Regions from separate parts of the Homo sapiens genome. Here region 1 is linked to region 2. Evidence: promoter capture Hi-C in 16 types of primary human blood cells and fetal thymus (Javierre and others, 2016). All regions are on one chromosome and are shown on one strand. Each heading gives the region's core, a stretch centred on a gene start or on the middle of the fragment in contact. The rest is flanking DNA. Distances are from core to core; before and after follow the strand shown. Region 1 has its middle 14 kb from the start of LINC03135. Region 2 holds the start of CLPS (colipase).

The links. Contacts are between HindIII fragments. The CHiCAGO score rates a contact against its expected background, and 5 or more counts as called.
Region 1: a contact is called between a fragment that was not itself captured here and the fragment with the promoter of CLPS in region 2, in 1 of 17 cell types (M1 macrophages). The highest score is 5.3, in M1 macrophages.

What each region holds. Positions count from the first base shown.
Region 1 is chr6:35,527,106-35,532,922 of GRCh38, reverse strand. No RefSeq gene overlaps it. Among named protein-coding and RNA genes, the nearest start is that of LINC03135, 14 kb to the left of the region's middle. The HindIII fragment of the contact is 546 bases long and covers 1,406-1,951 here.
Region 2 is chr6:35,795,063-35,800,845 of GRCh38, reverse strand. It overlaps CLPS (colipase), which reads left to right and starts at 3,523. Exons shown (of 3, transcript NM_001832.4): 1 at 3,523-3,641; 2 at 4,993-5,115; 3 at 5,569-5,783. The coding sequence starts at 3,558. The coding sequence ends at 5,700. The HindIII fragment of the contact is 2,191 bases long and covers 1,509-3,699 here.

The DNA of each region.
Region 1 (5,817 bases), core at 429-2,928, 270 kb after region 2:
TTGCTTGAGGCCAGGAGTTTGAGGCCAGCCTGGGCAACATAGCTAGACCCCTTCTCTACAAAAAAATCTAAAATTAAAAAATTAAAAATTATCCAGGCATGGTGGCATACACCTGTATTCCCAGCTACTCGAGAGGCTGAGGTAGGAGGATCGCTTGATCCCAGGGGATTGAGGCTGCAACGAGCTATGATCACACCTCTGTCCTCCAGCCTGGGCGACAGAACAAAACCTTATCTCTAAAAACAAAACAAAAGACACACACACACGCACACACACACACAACTGTTTTGCAGAGGCTGGAGGGGTATAAGCTGGTAGAAGAAGAGAGACTGCCTGGTAGACCAGAGGGGGGAGTAGGTGTGGGTAAGGATGGTTTGAATTAGATGTCAATTTTAAACTGTGTGAAGGGCTGCATGGTTTTATAAGGAGTATAAAAATATGAAAGCACAGGTGTGGTCAACCCTTAAAAGTATGGCTATTAATGGGAGAAAAAGGCGATGCCAGGACCTGGAGGGGTTTGGGGAGGTTTATTCTAAGACACGGAGACTAAGCATGTTCACAGGCTTATGGGCGTGGGCCAGCTGGGAGGGAGGGGGACTGAAGGGGATTGAAAAGAGATAATGAGTGCAGCAAGACAGGATGGGATCTGCACATCAGAACCACCAGGAGCTTTTTCAAAATTCCCATCTGGGCTCACTCCAGAACTACTCACTTAGACTCTCCAAATGTTGAGCCAGAGAACCTGGGCTTTATTTTATTTATTTATGTATTTTGAAACAGAGTCTTGCTCTGTCGCTCAGGCTGGAGTGCAGTGGCGTGATCTCAACTCACTGCAACCTCCACCTCCCAGGTTCAAGTGATTCTCCTGCCTCAGCCTTCCTTGTAGCTGGGATTACAGGCACCTGCCACCATGCCTGGCTAATTTTTGTATTTTTGTAGAGATGAGGTTTTACCATGTTGGCCAGGCTGGTCTTGAACTCCTGGCCTTAGGTGATCTGCCTGCCTCAGCCTCCCAAAGTGCTGGGATTACAGGCATGAGCCACCATGCCCAGTCAGAACCTTGGTTTTATTATTATTATTATTATTATTATTATTATTTTTAGATGGAGTCTTGCTCTGTCGCCCAAGCTGAAGTGCGGTGGTTCAATCTCGGCTCACTGCAGCCTCAGCCTCCTGGGTTCCAGTGATTCTCTTGCCTCAGCCCCCCAGGTAGCTGGGATTACAGGCACGCAGCACCATGCCCGGTTAATTTTTGTACTTTTAGTAGAGACGGGGTTTCACCATGTTGGCTGGGCTGGTCTCGAACTCCTGACCTCAGGTGATCCACACACCTCAGCCTCCCAAAGTGCTGGATTACAGGTGTCAGCCACCGCACCTGGCCAAGAACCTGGGCTTTAAATAAGCTTCTTGAATAGCATCAAATGATAAATCGATTACACAGGAATGAATGTAACAAAATATTTGCAAAGAACACTACAGAAGGCCAGGTGCGGTGGCTTACACCTGTAATCCCAGCACTTTGGGAGCCGAAGCGGGTGGATCACCTGAAGTCAGGAGTTTGAGACAGCCTGGACAACATGGTAAAACCCTGTCTCTACTAAAATTACAAAAATTAGCTAGGTGTGGTGGTGCACGCCTATAATCCCAGCTACTCAGGTGGCTGAGGCAGGAGAATCGCTTGAACCCGAGAGGTGGAGGTTGCAGTGAGCCAAGATCACACCACTGTACTCCAGCCTGGGTTACAAAGCAAGAGCCTGTCTTAAAACAAACAAACAAACAAAAAACAAAAAACAAAAAAGCACACACACAGGGAAAGAGTAAACTTTTCAGTAAATCAACTGAGTGTGCTCCTATGGGGAAAAAAATGAAACCTGACCCTTACCTCACACCATCAACAGATAAATTCCAGGTGGGCTATAGTCTTCAATACGAAAAGCAAAAGAATAAAGCTTATAAAAAATAATATAGGGTTAGGTGTAGGGGCTAACACCTGTAATCCCAGCATCTTGGGAACCCAAGGCAGGAGGATTACTTGAGTCTAGGAGTTTGAGACCAGCCTGGGCCACATAGGGAAACCCTGTCTCTAAAAAAGTTCAAAAAATCAGCTGGGCACACACCTGTGGTCCCAGTTACTCAGGAGGCTGAGATGGGAGGATCACTTGAGCCTGAGAGGTTGAGGCTGCAGTGAGCCATGATCATACCACTGCACTCCAGCCTGGGTGACTGAGTGAAACACTGTCTCAAAAAGTAATATAAATAAATAATAAATAAATAAAATAGGCCGGGCGCGGTGGCTCATGCCTGTAATCCCAATACTTTGGGAGGCCAAGGCAGGCAGATCATCTGAGGTCAGGAGTTCGAGACCAGCCTGACCAACATGGAGAAACCCCGTCTCTACTAAAAATACAAAATTAGCTGGGCGTGTTGGCACAGACCTGTAATCCCAGCTACTTAGGAAGCTGAGGCGGAAAGATCACTTGAACCTGGGAGGCGGAGGTTGCGGTGAGCCAAGATCACGCCATTGCACTCCAGCCTGGGCAACAAGATCAAAACTCTGTCTCAAAATAAGTAAATAAATAAAAGTAAAATAAAAAATAATAGGGAGTAGCCAGGTGTATGGCTGGCACCTGTAGTCCTAGGTACTTGGGAGGCTGAGGCAGTAGGATCACTTGAGTCCAGGAATTTGAGACTGCAGCGAGTTATGATCGTGCCGCTGCACTCCAGCCTGGACAACAGAGTGAGACCCTGTCTCTAAAAAATAATAATAAAATGTTTAAAAATTAATTAAGGCAATAAAAATTAAAAATAAATTTTAAAAATTAATGTATAATTCCATTTATATAACACTCCAAAGCAGGCAAAACTAATCCACATACCCATAGAAATCAGGGTGGTGGTGCCTTTGAAGGTGAGGAAAAGGATGAGGCTTTTGGCACCTGACAATATCTATTTCTTGACCTAGTTGAGGTTACAAAGGAGTTGGCTTCATAGTAATGCATTAACTTGTACATTTATGTTTTATGCACTTCTCTGCAATAAGTATGTTTTACTTCACATAAAGGTTTTAATAAAAAAGAAATCTTCCCTGTAATTTTTTTCTTTTATTTATTTATTTTTTTTGTGACAAGGTCTGGCTCTGTTGCCCAGGCTGGAGTACAGTGGTATTATCTCAGCTCACTGTAACCTCTGCCTCCTGGGCTTAAGTGATCCTCTCACCTCAGTCTCCTGAGTACCTGAGACTACAGGTGCGCACCACCATGCCTGGCTAATTTTGTATTTTTTGTAGAGGCAGGGTTTCACCTGTTGCCAAGGATGGTGTCAAACTTGTGAGCTCAAGTGATCCATCCACCTCAGCATCCCAAAGTGCTGGGATTATAGAAGTGAGACACCTTGCCCAGCCCCAAATAATTCCGATGGACAACCACATTTAGAGAGACTCCTGCTCTAGAGCCTGCTGGAGAGACACTATGAAAGTCAAGTCTGGGCCGGGCGCAGTGGCTCATGCCTGTAATCCCAGCACTTTGGGAGGCCAGGGCGGGTGGATCACCTGAGGTCAGGAGTTCGAGACCAGCCTGACGAATATGGAGAAACCCCGTCTCTACTAAAAATACAAAATTAGCCGGGCATGGTGGCACATGCCTGTAATCCCAGCTACAAGGGAGGCTGAGGCAGGAGAATCGCTTGAACCTGGGAGGCGGAGGTTGCGGTGAGCCGAGACCGCGCCATTGCACTCCAGCCTGGGCAAGAAGAGCGAAACCCCATCTCAAAAGAAAAAAAAAAGTTAAGTCTGTGGCCGGGCACGGTGGCTCACACCTGTAATCCCAGCACTTTGGGAAGCTGAGGCGGGCGGATCCCCTGAGGTCAGGAGTTTGAGACCAAACTGGCCAACATGGTGAAACCCCATCTCTACTAAAAATACAAAAATTAGCTGGGTGTGGTGGTGCATGCCTGTAATACCAGCTACTTGGGAAGCTGAGGCAGGAGAATCGCTTGAAGCTAGGAGGCGGAGGTTGCAGTGAGCCGAGATCGCACCACTGCACTCCAGCCTGGGGCACAAGAGCGAGACTTCATCTCAAAAAAAAAAAAAAAAAAAAAGAAAAACAAAAAAAAAGAAAGAAAAGTCAAGTCTGGCCAGGCGCAGTGGCTCATGCCTGTAATCCCAGCACTTTGGGAGGCCGAGGTGGGTGGATCACCTGAGGTCAGGAGTTTGAGACCAGCCTGGCCAATATGGCGAAATGCTGTCTCTACTAAAAATACAAAAATTAGCGGGGTGTGGTGGCACGCACCTGTAATCCCAGCTACTGGGGAGGCTGAAGCAGGAGAATCGCTTGAATTCTGGAGGTGGAGTTTGCAGTGAGCCAAGATCGTGCCATTGCACTCCAGCCTGGGCAATAAGAGCAAAACTCCGTCTCAAAAACAAAACAAAACAAAACAGAAGTCAAGTCTGTTTCAAGTGATGTGAACCAACTCTGATTCACAGATCTCAAATACTGACTCACATACAGAACCTGAAAAATCCAGAGTAGATTCAGGAATGGCTACTTTCAGATACTCCAACAAGATCATTAGGAATTGGTCTCTTTATCTCTTTGCTCAGATTTTCTCATTCTCCTGCAGGCTCCCCACTGAGGACAGCTCCCCACTGAGGACAGCTCCCAGCAAGTCCAGGCTATGTCCTTCCAGTCGAGCCACCTGAACAGAAAGAAAACATCTCCTTCTTTGAAGTCTTAGCAATAGTCCTGGGGCTTGTTCTCCCTACACTGGCTAGAGTCGCATGCCCATGCTTGACCAATGGCTGAGGCCAAAGGACTAACATAGGATGGGTGACCAGATGTGGGTCATGGTCTGTGCCTCTAGTTGGGGAGAATGGAGTCAGCCTCAGCTGAATCTGATTATCCATATGGGGGGAAACTGGATTTTCCTCAAAGGAAAAGTGGGTACCATTACCAAGAGAAAAGGAAAAAGATGCTTGGGCAGAAGAACTGGGAGCTACGGGTTGGAAGTCCCAATGGGGTCAAAGAAGAGGTGTGGTGGAGGAGACTGTCGTCAGAGAATGGGCATCTGAATTGTAATTTGAGAGGTGGAGCAGTTTCGGGTGATGACAGGGTCCAGGGCATGGCCATGGCAGTGGGTGGCCCAGCTGTCCAGGAGCCAAGACACCAAGGTGTTGGTTTTCCAGCCCCATGAGGAGTCTTCATTAATAAGGGTGTCACCCTAATAAAGCTCAGTCCCACACGCTTCAGTCTCAGAATAGTATCTGATTCAAGATATACAACTTGACTGGGTGTGGTGGCTCACACCTGTAATCCTAGCATTTTGGGAGGCCAAGGTGAGAGGATTGCTTGAGCCCAGGAATTCAAGACCAGCCTGGACAACATGGTGAAATCCCATCTCTCTACAAAAAATACAATTACTGTGGTGCACGCCTACAGTCCCAGCTACTCAGGGGGCTGGGGTGGGAGGATCGCTTGAGCCAGGGAGGTTGAGGCTGCAGTGAGCCGATATCCCACCACTGCACTCCAGCCTGGGCAATAGAGTGAAACCCTGTCAAAAAAAAAAAAAATTAATTGCCTAAGGTAATTAAAAAGCCATTTCCTTTAAAGTCAAAAGATTTTAAAATGATTCATATACATATACATAGTCAAAGCCACACTAATAAAAATCCCCTTTCCTTTCTCTTTTCTTCCTTCCTAAAGCAACTCTGTGCGATTCATTTCAATCTCTATCTCCCACCAGAAAAACTCTCCTCTTCCAAACCCACCTCAACTTAGCCACTTTCCCAATATGGGATGATTAGTCTTTTTTTTTGTTTTGAGA
Region 2 (5,783 bases), core at 2,274-4,773:
TGACTTGAACCCGGGAGGCAGAAGTTGCAGTGAGATGAGATTGTGCCATTGCACTCCAGGCTGGGCAACAGAGTGAGACTCCATCGAAAGGAAGGGAGGGAGGAAGGAAGGAAGGAAGGAGGGAAGGAAGGAAGGAAGGAAGATTTAGAGCAGGCAGAAAAGAAAAATAGAGAAAAAGATGACTTAGGAATTCTATAGTTTGCAGGTCAACCTTAGGGCTCTTTTTCCTTAATGTAAATGTGCACAAAGACCACGTTATTTCCATTTTACATAAACTTTGTCAGGTAGAGGTGCCATAAAAGCTACGGAGTGCTCAAAAGGGGGTCATTTTCTTTGTTTTCTCCTCATTCTGAAACCACCTTTGCAAAATTATGACTGAGACAGTGAAAGAGATCTAACTTAAGTGACTCCATCTTGTTTCTAACCTCCAAGCTGTCCTTGTTCATTCCTAGGCGTAAGCTGAACTAACTTTGGGAGAAACTTAGTTTATAGTTTAAACAAAGACAGTAACAGCCCTTTCCCAAAGCTGACTTCATTCTTGCCTGGGGACTAGATTGCCTTTGTAGGACTAACATTAGCCACAAGATTAGAAATTATGGTTTAGGAGTCACGCAGCTGGAGGCTACAAGATCCTGATCCTCCCTAAACTACTCCTAAGATCAGTGCTTGAGATATTTTGCTGACCCTGCACTTGATGGATCAGCTGGCCCCACCCAGATCAATAAACTGGCTCATCTGATCTTGTGGCCCTCACCCAGTAATTGACTGGGTGCACGAAGACAGCTCTGAGTCCCTATGATTTCATCTCTGACCAATCATCACCCCTGGCTCACTGGCTTCCCCCCACCCACCAAGTTATCTTCAAAAACTCTGCTCCCTGCTGGGCATGGTAGCTCATGCCTGTAATCCCAGCACTTTGGGAGACTGAGGCAGGTGGATCACTTGAGGTCAGGAGTTCAAGACCAGCCTGACCAACATGGTGAAACCCCATATCTACTAAAAATACAAAATTAGCCGAGCATGGTGGCACATGCCTGTAATCCCAGCTACTCGAGAGGCCGAGGCAGGAGAATCACTTGAACCCAGGAGGCGGAGGTTGCAGTGAGCCAAGATCATGCCATTGCACTCCAACCTGGGCAACAAGAGCGAAACTCTGTCTCAACAGCAACAACAACTCTAAAACTCTAGTCTCCTGCACCTGCACAGCCGGCTCTGCATGAAATACTCTTTCTCCACTGCAATTCCCCTGTCTTGATGAATCGGCTCTATCTAGGTAGTGGGCAAGGTGAACCCCTTCAGTGGTTACATCCTGAGGGCTGTGTCACAGGCCATGGTTGCTCATATTTGGCTCAGAATAAATCTATTCAAATATTGTACAGAGTTTGACTCTTTTCATTGACAGGTACTTAATTTTTGCTTTCCTTTTAGAAGCACATACAGTGTCAAAGTTCTCTTTGCTACACTTCATTTGTAATGGAAAAAACTCCAGCCTTTTTTCTTTGCAAGCTTGGCTGAGACCAACTAGGGACAGGGCTGATGGTTTTCACAGCTCCCTTCATGGAGAGAAATCACTCCTCTGATTCCTTTGCCAGTCTCCATCTTGACTTGTGAGAAGGGAATAGTGATTCCCTTCTCTGTGGCTCACCTCACAGAGGTCCTGGGGGTGGGGAGCAGGTAGAGAAAAGAGAAGGAAGGATCAGAGTGAACTCATAGGAAAAAGTGCTTTCAAACATTGAGTTCTATAAAAGAGAGGGGGGATAGTGTTCTTTCATCAATGGTATTTCTGCATCGCTGGAACCAAATTGGTTTTTCTCATTTTGAGAGTCTCCTGGTTGTTCCTCCAGCTATTTCTCTACATTCCACACCCCAGGGATGTAAAGGTGAGAGGAAGGGGGTCATATTACATGGCTGGGCACCCACCATGTGCCAGGCACTTCCGAAGGTGTTCCACGTGCATTGTCTTAATCATGACCTCAGGAAGTAGGAGGCGTTATCCCCCTAAGATAAATAAGGAAAGTGAGGTTCAGGGAGCTTCACTTTCAATAATGTGTCTGAGGCCACGTAGCTCCAGTAAATGCTGAATTTTGAAGCCAGCTTGGTCTGGATCAAAGCTGTGCTTGAGGCTGGGCACAGTGGCTCACACCTGTAATCCCAACACTTTAGGAGGCCGAGGTGGGAAGATTGCTTGAGCCCACGAGTTTTAGACCTGGGAGGCTTAGGGGGAAGATTGCTTGATCTCAGGAGGTGGAGGCTGCAGTGAGCCAAGATGGCACAACTGCACTTCGGCCTAGGTGACAGAGTGAGACCTTGTCTCAAAAAATTAAATTAAATTAAATTAAAAGCTGTGCTTGAGGCCTGGGCCTCTCAGTGGAGCTGTCTTCTACCTCCTGGGATGGAGAGGGGAAGGGCAGGGGCCTCTGGCTGCCATGACTAGTCCTTCAGGAAAAGCTGCTCTGTTCCCATGCCTGAGCAAACTCAGGCAGCTGTGCCCTTCCCAGCTTCCTGAGGCCCCTGCTCCATCTGAGGCTCATGAGACCTCTTCATTCTCAGCCAGGACTAGCGACTGCTCACGCGCGCACGTGGCCTTGGGTAGGGGGCAGCGTGAGTGGAAACCTTAACTAAAGGGGTGAGTATCTGATGCTGGAATTGCAGATAGTAAGTGAGGTAGAAAGGAAAGGGGAGAGAGGCATTTAGGAAGGGCCTCCTAAGGGCCCTTGAGTCAGGCCTGCAGGCAGCCCCTGGTGTGAGGGCAGGGGGAGGGTGCCAAAGTGAAAGCACACACACCCTGGCCTGCTGGGGGTTGCAGAACTGTCAGCCCCAGGGATCTGGGCATGGCCTGGAATCCCCCGAGGAGACTGAAGGAAGGTTGAGGGGTGGGAGGCTAGGATCCTCGTCCCTGGAGTCTGACACTGCTAGACACCTGGGCTTGGGTGGGCCAAAGGCAAGGCCTGACTATAGTGAGGCAGAGAGGCCCCAAGTACACAGAATGTAAGCAGGCACTCACACCATAGGTGCCTCTCTTGCCTTGGATTCGTCCAGGCACTGCCCAGGAGCTCAAGACACAAGGGCAGCCACCCTTACCCACTGCTTATGTGGCATATGGGAATATACAATATAAATATATTCTTATAATTGTATATAATAATGTTTATATATATGTAACACATAAATGTGTATTAATTCAACCCTCACAACTCTTTAAATTATCCTTAGTTGACAGATAAGATGAAAGGCAGAATAGTTGGAACAGATAGTAAGTTTGCCTCACTAATAACTTGTACACAGTCCATACTCTTAACCACGATGCAACACAATTATCACCAACACACACACACACACACACACACACACACACACACACACGAAAAAGGCCACCAGGTACTCACCCAGTTTCCTTATCAGGAACCGCCCCACAGCAGATTGGCCACAGCTGTGCCTCTGCCCACGGCCAGCCCTGTGGGATGCAGGTGGATCTCGTGAGGTCAGGGCCCCTTTTATAGCCCCATCACCACAGCTGGCTCTGTCTCCCGCCACCCACACCAGCTGTCCCACTCACCATGGAGAAGATCCTGATCCTCCTGCTTGTCGCCCTCTCTGTGGCCTATGCAGCTCCTGGCCCCCGGGGGATCATTATCAACCTGGTAAGAGGGTCTTCAGGGGAGGCGCCTCCTGAGTCCCCAGATGAAGACTTCCTAAGCTTGGACCTTGACCTCTGATGTCTCCACCTGGACTGGCAGGGGCTGGGAGGAGTGGCATCTTGCATCCCTCTGTTTACTTCCATGTCCTGTCCTATGCCTCTTCCCAGAGGCCACAGGAAAGGCTGATCAGCCCCTCTCCAGCTCCAACTGGAGCATGCTCAGAGCAGCAGCTCAACCTGGCTATGAGGGACCTTTTTTTTCTTTTTTTTCTTTTTGAAACGGAGTCTTGCTCTGTCACCAGGCTGGAGTGTAGTGGCACAATCTCGGCTCACTGCAATCTCTGCTTCCCGGGTTCAAATGATTCTCCTGCCTCAGCCTCCCAAGAAGCTGGGATTACAGGTGCCTGCCATAACGCTCAGCTATTTTTTGTATTTTTAGTAGAAATAGGGTTTCACCATGTTGCCCAGGCTAGTCTCAAACTCCTGACCTCGTGATCCGCCCACCTCGGCCTCCCAAAGTGCTGGGATTACAGGCATGAGCCACCTCACCTGGCCCTACGAGGGAGCTTTGTAAAAATCCAGAGCCCTGGGCTTCCATCCTGAGAAAATGCTTTGCGCCAATCATTCCAGCTTCTGACTTATGGAGATGCCTCGGAGATGTTTACTCATTCTGTTCTCATAATAACCACTGAGGGAGGTGTTTTCAGAGTCAGCCCTGTCTTCAGACAGAGAGAGGGTGAGCAACCTGCCTGAGGTCACATAGCTGGAAAGTGGTTCAGCTGGGGCCCCACCACTGCCCCACACCACCTCTCCACCATGGGTCTTGGCTGGGAAAGCCCTTCCAGAACGTCCATGCGGTTGAAAGGTTCTGAACTCTCTTAACTTGGGGCCATGGCTGGACTTGGAGGTCCAGGACCCTTGGAGATTATAGATCAGATCTGTTGGGGGAGGAAGGAGTCTTGCAGGGAGATGCAATCTTCACCGCCTCCTTAAAGAGGTGTGGGACCCAGAGTGGTTTGGAGAACTTGTCTAGGGGCCTTGTGTGCACATTCCAAATGGGAACACTGAGGCTTGGGAGGCAGTGACTTGCCCAGAGTCACACAGGAGGTTGGTAGCACAGCCGGTACTAGAACCCAGGGGTCCTGACCCTCTGTGCAAGTCTGCTTCTCTGTCACCGCATGCCCACTTCTCACGTGGGTGGGGGGCACAGAGGCCACCAGACCCAGGGGATGGACTCCTTCACACACATCCCTACCAGGGGAGACACTGTTAGTGGTAGTGTGTGGTGGGTACAGGTCTGAATGGAGAAGGGACCTGAGGGAGTGGGGCCTGGGCTGACTGGCTGCTCCTGGCAGGAGAACGGTGAGCTCTGCATGAATAGTGCCCAGTGTAAGAGCAATTGCTGCCAGCATTCAAGTGCGCTGGGCCTGGCCCGCTGCACATCCATGGCCAGCGAGAACAGCGAGTGCTCTGTCAAGGTGGGTGCCTGAGGACTTGGCGTGGGTGGGGGAGAATGGGGAGTAGGGCCCTGAACACTTGTGAGTGGGATCAGGGAGGGGGGTCAGCCTGGACACTGAATGTTGAGGAGACGAGAGGGAGGTCGACAGGTGTCAAAGCACTTTCCCATCCCATCATCTCTCTTGACCCTCCCGAGTGACCAGTGAGATGGGTGGGGGTGGGGATTTGTTATCCCCATTTCATGGCTGGGTAAATAGAGGCTCCCCAGAGAGATCAAGCTAGTAAGAGCAAATGAGCCAGAGCAGAGGTCAGAGCTGGGGTCTCCAGGGCCCACGGCACCCCTGGGGAGGCAGGTGGGAGAGGCACTCCCCGAAAACACAGGCTGGCCTACTGGTTCTCTAGGTCAGGCAGGGGACAAGTGATGTCCAAAGTATCTCCCCATAGCCTTGACTCCATTGGCTGTGTCTCTGCAGACGCTCTATGGGATTTACTACAAGTGTCCCTGTGAGCGTGGCCTGACCTGTGAGGGAGACAAGACCATCGTGGGCTCCATCACCAACACCAACTTTGGCATCTGCCATGACGCTGGACGCTCCAAGCAGTGAGACTGCCCACCCACTCCCACACCTAGCCCAGAATGCTGTAGGCCACTAGGCGCAGGGGCATCTCTCCCCTGCTCCAGCGCATC